2 separate regions of the Homo sapiens genome follow, and region 1 is linked to region 2. Evidence: promoter capture Hi-C in 16 types of primary human blood cells and fetal thymus (Javierre and others, 2016). All regions are on one chromosome and are shown on one strand. Each heading gives the region's core, a stretch centred on a gene start or on the middle of the fragment in contact. The rest is flanking DNA. Distances are from core to core; before and after follow the strand shown.

Evidence for each region. The method cuts DNA at HindIII sites, captures the fragments that hold promoters and counts their contacts. A CHiCAGO score of 5 or more calls a contact.
Region 1: a fragment that was not itself captured here is called in contact with the fragment with the promoter of GATA6-AS1 in region 2 in 7 of 17 cell types (naive B cells, naive CD4 T cells, activated CD4 T cells and 4 more); the score reaches 14.0 in naive B cells.

What each region holds. Positions count from the first base shown.
Region 1 is chr18:20,932,952-20,937,646 of GRCh38, reverse strand. No RefSeq gene overlaps it. Among named protein-coding and RNA genes, the nearest start is that of ROCK1, 180 kb to the left of the region's middle. RefSeq lists enhancers at 1,498-2,105, 2,106-2,711, 2,712-3,319, 3,320-3,925, 3,926-4,533 and 4 more. The HindIII fragment of the contact is 5,772 bases long and covers 200-4,695 here.
Region 2 is chr18:22,165,089-22,170,217 of GRCh38, reverse strand. GATA6-AS1 (GATA6 antisense RNA 1 (head to head)) reads left to right here and starts at 1,250. Exons shown (of 2, transcript NR_102763.1): 1 at 1,250-1,551; 2 at 1,835-3,320. It overlaps GATA6 (GATA binding protein 6), which reads right to left and starts at 629. Exons shown (of 7, transcript NM_005257.6): 1 at 536-629. RefSeq lists enhancers at 2,481-2,984, 4,604-5,129. The HindIII fragment of the contact is 8,900 bases long and covers 1-4,961 here.

The DNA of each region.
Region 1 (4,695 bases), core at 1,836-4,335, 1.2 Mb after region 2:
AGTTGAGGACACACATCACAAATAAGTTTCTGAGAATGCTTCTGTCTACTTTTTATGGAAAGATATTTCCTTTTTCAACATAGGCCAGAAAGCGCTCAAAATGTCCACTTCCAGATACTACAGAAAGAGTGTTTCAAACCTGCTTTATGAAAGGGAATGTTCAAACCTGTGACTTAAAAGCAAACATCACAAAGAAGCTTCTGAGAATGTTGCTGTCTACTTTTTATATATAATCCCGTTTCCAACGAAATCCTCAAAGCCATCCAAATATCCACTTGCAGATTCCACAAAAAGAGCGTTTCAAAACTGATCTATAAATAGAAAGGTTCAACTCTGTTAGTTGAGTACATATATCCCAAAGAAGTTTCTTAGAATGCTTCTGTCTAGTTTTTATGGGAAGACATTTCCTTTTTCACCAAAGGCGTCAAAGCGCTCCAAATGTCCACTTCCAGATACTACAAAAAGAGTGTTTCAAACCTGCTCTAAGAAAGGGAACGTTCAACTCTGAGACTTGAATGCAGATATCACAAAGTCGTTTCCGAGAGTGCTTCTGTCTAGATTTTATATGAAGATATTCCTGTTTCCAACGATATCTTTAAAGCAATCAAAATATCAAATTGCAGATTCTACAAAAATAGTGTATCAAAGCTGCTCTGTAAAAAGAAAGGTTCCACTCTCTTAGCTGAGTACATACATCACAAACATGTTTCTGAGAATCCTTCTGTCTAGTTTTTATGGGAAGATATTTCCATTTTCACCATAGGCGTCAGAGCGCTCCAAATGTCCACTTCCCGATACTACAAGAAGAGTGTTTCAAACTGGCTCTATGAAAGGGAATGTTCAACTCTACGAGTTGAATGAAAAGATCACAAAGAAGTTTCTGAGAATGCTTCTGTCTAGATTTCATATGAATATATTCCCATTTCCCAGGAAATCCTCTAAGCTATCCAAATATCCACTTGCAGATCCTACAAAAAGAGTGTTTCAAAACTGCTCTGTCAAAAGAAAGGTTCAACTCTGTTAGTTGAGGACACACATCACAAAGAAGTTTCTGAGAATGCTTCTGTGTAGGTTTTACATGAAGATATTGCCATTTCCAACGAAATCCTTAAAGCCATTCAAATATGCACTTGCAGATTCTACAAAAAGAGTGTTTCAAAACGGCTCTGTAAAAAGAAAGGTTCAACTCTGTTAGTTGAGTACACAAATCACAAACAAGTTTCTGAGAATGCTTCTGTCTCGTTTTTATGGGAAGATATTTCCTTTTTCACCAAAATCATTAAAGGGCTCCAAAGGTCCACTTCCAGATACTACAAAAAGAGTGTTTCAAACCTGCTCCATGAAAGGGAATGTTCAACTCTGTGACTTGAATGCCGATATCACAAAGTAGTTTCTGAGAGTGCTTCTGTCTAGATTTTTTATGAAGATATTCCCGTTTCCAACGAAATCGTTAGAGCTATCCAAATATCCACTTGCAGATTCTACAAAAAGAGTGTTTCCAAACTGCTGTATCAAAAGACAGGATGTACTCCGTTGGTTGAGGACACACATCACAAAGAAGTTTCTGAGAATGCCTCTGTCTAGATTTTATATGAAGATATTCCCGTTTCCAATGAAATCCTTAAAGCTCTCCAAATATCCACTTGCAGATTCTCCAAAAAGAGTCTTTCAAAAGTGCTCTGTAAATAGAAAGTTTCAACTCTGTTAGTTGAGGACAAACATCACAATCCAGTTTGTGAGAATGCTTCTGTCTAGTTTTTATGGGAAGATATTTCCTTTTGCACCGTAAGCGTCAAAGCGCTCCAAGTGTCCACATCCAGATACTACGGAAAGAGGGTTTCAAACCTGCTCTATGAAAGGGAATGATCAACTCTGTGACGTGAATGCAGACATCATAAAGCAGTTTCTGAGAATGTTTCTGTCTAGGTTTTCTATGTTGATACTCCCGTTTCCAACGAAATAGTGAGAGCTATCCAACTATCCACTTACATATTCTACAAAAAGAGTGTTTCCAAACTGCTGTATCATAAGAAAGGATGAACTCTGTTAGTTGAGGACACACATCACAAAGAAATTTCTGAGAATGCTTCTGTCTAGTTTTTATGGGAAGATATTTCCGTTTTCAACATAGGCCTGAAATCGCTCGAAATGTCCATGTCCACATACTACAGAAATAGTGTTTCAAACCTGCTCTATGAAAGGGAATGATCAACTCTGTGACGTGAATGCAGACATCATAAAGCAGTTTCTGAGAATTTTTCTGTCTAGGTTTTCTATGTTGATACTCCCGTTTCCAATGAAATAATGAGAGCTATCCAACTATCCACTTACATATTCTACAAAAAGAGTGTTTCAAAACTGCTGTATCATAAGAAAGGATGAACTCTGTTAGTTGAGGACACACATCACAAAGAAATTTCTGAGAATGCTTCTGTCTAGTATTTATGGGAAGATATTTCCGTTTTCAACATAGGCCTGAAATCGCTCGAAATGTCCATGTCCAGATACTACAGAAATAGTGTTTCAAACCTGCTCTATGTAAGGGAATATTCAACTCTGTGACTTAAAAGCAAACATCACAAAGAAGGTTCTGAGAATGCTGCTGTCTACTTTTTATATGTAATCCCGTTTCCAAGGAAATCCTCAGAGCTATCCTAATATCCACTTGCAGATTCCACAACAAGAGCTTCTCAAAACTGACCTATAAATAGAAAGGTTCAACTCTGTTAGTTGAGTACATATATCCCAAAGAAGTTTCTTAGAATGCTTCTGTCTAGTTTTTATGGGAAAACATTTCCTTTTTCACCAAAGGCGTCAAAGCGCTAAAAATGTCCACTTCCAGATACTACAAAGTGTCTCAAACCTGCTCTAAGAAAGGGAATGTTCAACTCTGTGACTTGAGTGCAGATATCACAAAGCAGTTTCTGAGAGTGCCTCTGTCTAGATTTTATATGAAGGTATTCCCATTTCCTATGAAATCGTTAGAGCTATCCAAATATCCACTTGCATATTCTACAAAAGGAGTGTTTCGAAACTGCTGTATCAAAAGAAAGGTTGAACTCTGTTAGTTAAGGACACACATCACAAAGAAGTTTCTGAGAATGCTTCTGTGTAGATTTTACATGAATATAGTCCCGTTTCCAAGGAAATCCTTAAAGCCATCCAATTATCCACTTGCAGATTTTACAAAAAGAGTGTTTCAAAACTGCTGTGTAAAAAGAAACGTTCAACTCTGTCAGTTGAGTACACACATCACAAACAAGTTTCTGAGAATGCTTCTGTCTAGTTTTTATGGGAAGATATTTCCTTTTTCTCCAAAGTCGGCAAAGCGCTCCAAAGATCCATTTCCAGATACAACAAAAAGAGTGTTTCAAACCAGCTCTATGAAAGGGAATGTTCAACTCTGTGACTTGAATGCAGATATCACAAAGTACCTCCTGAGAGTGCTTCTGTCTAGATTTTATATGAAGATATTCCCGTTTCCAAGGAAATCGTCAGAGCTATCCAAATATCCACTTGCAGATTCTGCAAAAAGAGTGTTTCCAAACTGCTGTATCCAAAGACAGGTTGTACTCTGTTAGGTGGGGACACATATCACAAAGAAGTTTCTGAGAATGACTTTTCCGTTTCCAATGAAATCTACTTAAAGGTATCCAAATATCCGCTTGCAGATTCTACAAAAAGAGTCTTTCAAAACTGCCCTGTAAATAGAAAGGTTCAACTCTGTTAGTGGAGGACATACATCACAAAGCAGTTTGTGAGAAGGCTTCTGTCTAGTTTTTAAGGGAAGATATTTCCTATGTCACCGTACGCGTCAAAGCGCTCAAATGTCCACATCCAGATACTACAGAAACGGTGTTACAAACGTGCTCGATGAAAGAGAATGTTCAATTCTGTGACTTGAATGCAGACATCACAAAGCAGTTTCTGAGAGTGCCTCTGTCTAGATTGTATATGAAGATATTCCCGTTTCCAACGAAATCTTCAAAGTTATCGAAATATCCGCTTGCAGATACTACAAAAAGAGTGTTTCTAAACTGTTGTATCAAAAGAAACGTTCAACTCTGTTAGTTGAGGACACCCATCACAAATAAGTTTCTGAGAATGCTTCTGTCTACTTTTTATGGGAAGTTATTTCCTTTTTCAACATAGGCCTGACATCGCTCGAAATGTCCACTTAGAGATACTACAGAAAGAGTGTTTCAAAACTGCTCTATGGAAGGGAATGTTCAACTCTGTGACTTAAAAGCAAACATCACAAGGAGCTTCTGAGAATGCTGCTGTCTATATTTTATATGTAATCCCGATTCCAACGAAATCCTCAGAGCTATCCAAATATCCACTTGCAGATTCCACAAAAAGAGCATTTCAAACTGATCTATAAAGAGAAAGGTTCAACTCGGTTAGTTGAGTGCATATATCACAAAGAAGTTTCTTAGAATGCTTCTGTCTAGTTTTTATGGGAAGACATTTCCTTTTTCACCAAAGGCGTGAAAGCGCTCCAAATGTCCACTTCCAGATACTACAAAAAGTGTGTTTCAAACGTGCTCTAAGAAAGGGAATGTTCAACTCTGTGACCTGAATGCAGATATCACAAAGTAGCTCCTGAGAGTGCTTCTGTACAGATTTTATATGAAGACATTCCCGTTTCCAACGAAATCGTTAGAGCTATCCAAATATCCACTTGAAGATTCT
Region 2 (5,129 bases), core at 1-2,500:
GAGAAAAGGAGGGGGAACGCAACGGGCTGGGGAGGGGGGAGCGTGAGACCGCCCCAGAGCCGAGGCGACCCCAAATGGGAGAGCAGGAAGAATGACAGGGAGACTCGGAGCGAGTGGGGGAGGGAGGTGAAATGCAGCCGGGCTGGCCTCCTCCAGGCTGCTCTTCCAAATCGCCTCGGCTCATCGGAGATTACCACACTAAAATTAATGCCCACACACAGACCTGGCTAGATAGCAAGAAAGAAGTTTCTCTGCCTGCCTAACTACCGGCTCCCGCCCCTTTGCGCCGAGATAACTCGGAGATAAGGCTGCGCGCAGATAAGCGCTTCGAGGAGAGAAAAAGAGACTAGAAGTTGGTCCGCGGTGTCCCGGGAGCCTGGGAGCCGCCTCAGCCCGCCCGGAGGGAAGGAGGGAAACACCGTCGGAGCCGACCGCGGCCTGGAGAGGGCCGGAGAGCCGGAGGCCAGGGGCCCGCGACGAGTAGGGGTGGAGGGGAGGAAAGCGGGGAGATCGCGCGAGGAGGAAGCAGCCGAACCTCGGGCGGGCGCTGCGCATGGAGAACGGCCGCGGCGGAGGGTGCTCCCAGGCGCGGAGAGAAGCCGAGGGCGCCAGCGGGCGAGCGCGAGTCCGGGGTCTGCGCCGCGCTGCTGGTGAATAAAAAGGAGAGAGGAGGCGCCTCTTACTGCTCTGCCGGAAAACTGCAGCCTGGGCTCCTGATTGGACTCACCGAGCCCTAAACAAACAGCGCTCGCCGAAGGGTGCCAGGCTGTGGGTCGGAACTGCGCTCAGCGAGCAGCTGGGCGCTGGAGGTGAAGAGGAGGAGGAGGGATCGAGGGGAGGAGAGAAAAGAGGGTGGGGAGGGGACGGCGAGGGGGGAGGGGAGCGCGCCGCCCAGGCAGACAATGAGAGCCGCGCTGCCTGCGGGCGTGGGCTGAGCCGCAAGCCCTGTCCCCGGAGTGGGGGCGAGTCCACCCGGGGGGCACCGAGCCCAGGGACCCCGGGGGAGGGGCGGAGGCCACAGAACGCCTGACCTGGCTAGCGACCCGCACCCATCCAGCGGCGGTGCACCCTCCCGCTCCCGCAGTCGCACACACACACCCACACGAGGGAGGGGGAGGGAGCCTTGGCACGGGAGGAGTTGGCAGTGCACAGTCCCGCGCCGCCGCCGCGGCGGGAGGGGCGCTCCAGACCTTGGGTCAGCACGCCCCCAGAAGGAAGGGGGAACGTGCTCTGCGCCCCCCCGCCCCCCAACCCCCGCCTAGCCCCTTCACAGCAAATGCGCTTTTTGCCCTGAAGTTGTGTGAGACCGACCTTAAACTTTCTCCGACCCTATCTCGGGATGCTACGGCTCAGGTCGTGGTGGTTTCGGGAACCTCAAGACAACATTCCCCAGCTGACCTTTGGGAACTTTAACTCGGGTCGTCATGTACGGAAAGGTAGTCTATGGGGTACGCAGAATGGAAAAGGGCTTCCACATCAGTCGTGTCCGAGGACGCTCTCCAACTTTTGATGTCCCTGGAGAGTTTCTGATATTTCCCTGGAGAGTTTCAGGTAAGTCACAGATAAGTCACTGCGAAGAGGGGGTGTCACCTTCCCTGGACCCAGCGCTAAATGCTGCTTCCCCACCCCCACGTTCATATACACACCCCCTCTTCGCTCCCTCCAAACAGTTATCACAACTCTGTACAAACTGATACGGTCCCTAGCGGGCAAAAGGGACTGGAAATGAACGTCGCGGGGTTATCAGCGCCGATCTGTCAGCGGCAACTCGCGCGGCCGCAGGCTCGTCCGCTGCAGGAGCCGTGATATATGTCTCGCTCCCTTTCGCTTACAGAAAGGATTTCTTCCGACAGACGTGACCCCAGAAGGCTGCCGAGGGAGACTTTAGGACAAGAGGCGTTGTTTTTGTGAGAATGAATTTTTATACTTTACCCCGACCCCACCCCCTACCCCCCGCCCAGGTAAATCCAAGTAAATGATTTTCTGAAGGTCGGTCTCCTAGAAAGCGTTTAGGCTCTGGTTTTTTGTTTTGTTTCTATTTTCGTGTTTTCCCAGTTAGGGAAGGAAGAGGAGCCTGTGCAGAGTTGAACTGGGGTGGAGAGGTGCCTTGTAAAGTATGGTTTCCAGAGATGGTGAGACCTCGTAGCTAAGCGTTGTTTCCTCTGCACGTAACTGTGAGTTGTGAACTTGTGGCTCCTGGGGGAGCGGGACAGGGCCTGGCAGTGCGGGGGAGGGGGCAAGGAATTCAGGAAGTTGGCGAGAATTCTTCGTTTTTCATTCTTCGTTGTAAATTGCTTCTAAACACTTCTGAATTTTAAATTGCTACCGAGAAGGTCCAGAAACCGTTCTCATCCAATTTAGTCACTTTTATTACGTTCCACTTTGCCTCCCCCAATCACTGCGGCGGCTCCCAGTTTCAGCGTGGCCGCATTTGGAAAAGGCTGAAGGTAGAAAACTCTGGAATGGAGAGGCTGGCGACTGGAGCAGGATCCAGGGGCTTTAAATTTTAACCTGAATGCGATCGAATGCGCGACTCCCAGAAGAGATAGCCAGGCGTCCGCCCGGCCGCTCAACCCCCGCCAGGACTCGGAATGCCTTGCTTTTGGTTCTTTTCGTGAGTTCCGACCAAATGTTTAAGTGGACTGGGTTTTGCAGAAGCTCATTTGTAAGCACTGACGGAAATGGGTTGTGGGCATTTGATTTCCTTTGATTCCAACGTTTTGAAATAATGTTTCTCGGATTTGCTATTCGAAGCAATTTTCTAAAAACTCATATCTTATTTGCTAAAAATAAACTCTTTGGCTCAGTTTGTGTCCAGGCTGTGTACGGCCTCCAACCCTGAGCCCCGAGGAGATCGAGCCCTGGCGCGAGCCTGATCTCTGTCCTGTGTGTTTCTTTGTATTTGCAAGTACAAGGATGTCTGCGTGGATATCCCTGGACACTCGATACCCCCCGGGGACCTGCTTTTCCCGCAGCTCCGCAGACGCGGCGGGAGGGCGCGCTGGCCCCGGCGCTGCTGGGACAGAGGTGAGCAGCGGGGTGGACATTGACCGATTCGACAACGTTCGGGCTCTAAGGGCTCGGGAAGGGACCCGGCATTTTACCCTCCAGATTCCCAATCTATTTTTAAAAATAATGTTCAAAACATATGGGAAAAATAAGTGATTGCTCCTTTTCATGGTCACAGATTGTATTTATTTTTTCAGACTGGTTTTCCAACCTAACGAGGGAATGGGTAGTGAATGTTGTTGTTGTTGTTGTTGTTTATGTTGGTTAATTTCGAAATAAAACTGTTTAACTCGTACAGTTGATTCAGACAGAAAACCAGGCTGCCTGACGTCTCCAATGTGCCTTTTCCCCAATGCATCTTTGGCGCTAGGGACCGCTCTGGGGAAGACAAGCATGTTTTCAAAGCCACTCCCATGAGCCCCAGACCCGCGCGTGGAGCTTCCTGGGCGCGCCCCAGCTGGTCTGGAAGGCCGGCAAATTAGGAAGTTTGGAGGGAAGAGGTGCACCCCAAACTAGGGAGAAACCCAAGAGCTGGGGAGAAGGCCCCCACTAGTGTCCAAAGTACGCGGACAGCTCTTAAAAGTTATTGTTTTCTTCGTGGGGATATATATTTTTTCTTTTCCTTCCTTTCCTTTTTTTTTTTCTTTCACCCTCGCATGTCTCCTCTTTCGGGATTTGCTAATCTTGAACGAAACTGTTCTCTCCGGACTGTTTCGACCCAATGAGCGGCCCCTCCTGGGCAAGTCGTCCCCCTTACCCTCACAGAGGGCTGGCTCCCGGGCGCGGCCTGTCCCCAGGGTTGATTTATTTCGGCCGCGCCACACCACTATTCGCGATTCGAATCCACCCAGAACACTGCAGCCAATTGGGCAGGGGGCGGGGGCTTGGCTGCCAAACGGGAAGGGTGTTTGGGGACCCAGTCTTGCGCCGCTTCCGGAGGAGCGGCGAGACCCAGCAAGGACCCGCGTCCCCGTGCACCTCCACCCCCGCAAACTCACGCTCATTTTACGATCCTGTCACAAAACTGGCTGCTTCGGCGATGTTTCATAAGGAAAAAGAATGCATTTCTGACTTAAAACATATTTTTAACTTAGATTTTTAACAGCCCAGATTTATGAGGCCTTCTCGCTTATACCATATTTCTTCCCGTCTCTGGGACGCTTTTACCCAAGGACCCGGGGTCACCTCAGAGCCCCCCACCCCTGCCAGCGTCTGGGGCCAGTGGTGGGTTCCGGGCGGCGTGTCCCCCACTCAGCGGCCGCACTGCACGGTAGGCCGTCGACCAGAGTCCTGGCGGTGATTTTCTTTAAGTTTAAATCTCGGGAAACCAAAAACACTCTTTAGAAACGTCAGGTGGTGGCGGCGGAAACTTGCAGGTCGCCCCCACCCCCAGCGCCGGCTCCCGCCGGCGGCCACTTCGGGGAAGGACCGCGCGGAGCCAGCGCCGGGGTCCCCGGGCGGTCGGAATCGAGGCCCGGCGCGTTGCGCAGGCCAGGCCCGGCCCGGAGGCCCCTTGCCCGGCGCAGCCCCCGGCCGACCCCCGTGCGCCGCCGGCGGCCGCCAGCACGGCGCGGAGGTGGGCTAGCGGCGGCGGCGCACGAAAGGTCACCGCGGTGGCATTCCTCTCCGCGCTGTTTACGTGACTTAATGTACTCGCTGCGCCGCGGGTAAGTTCGGGCTGCGATAAGGGGGCGGCCGGGGGAGGGTCGCCGTAAAAGCCCCACGCCGGGCGCCTCCAGCCCTCCCCTCATCCATTAACCTTTTTACTTTCTTCTCCGCTCTCTCTCCAAGCCTGTTATCTAGGCCACCCAATGACCGACGAAAGATTTTCCCTCCCTGCTTCTCCCGTGGCCGCTTTAAACCAAATAAATTTAGCTATTAAGGGCCAAGATGTCTGACAAAAGATCGAAAGGTGTCTTTCCGTGATCGCTTAAAGAAGCGAAGGAGAAGCTTGCGGCTCTCAAATCCCGATAAAGAAATTCCGCGCCGGCGCCGGCCTCCCTCCCCGCGGCCTGGTTGCTCCCTGACGCCCTGAGACCCCGACTTCGGCGGCCGCAGACCTCGGACGGGCCCGGCGGGACCTGTGGCTGCCGCCTGGGGAAGGTGGAGGTCCCCGGGCT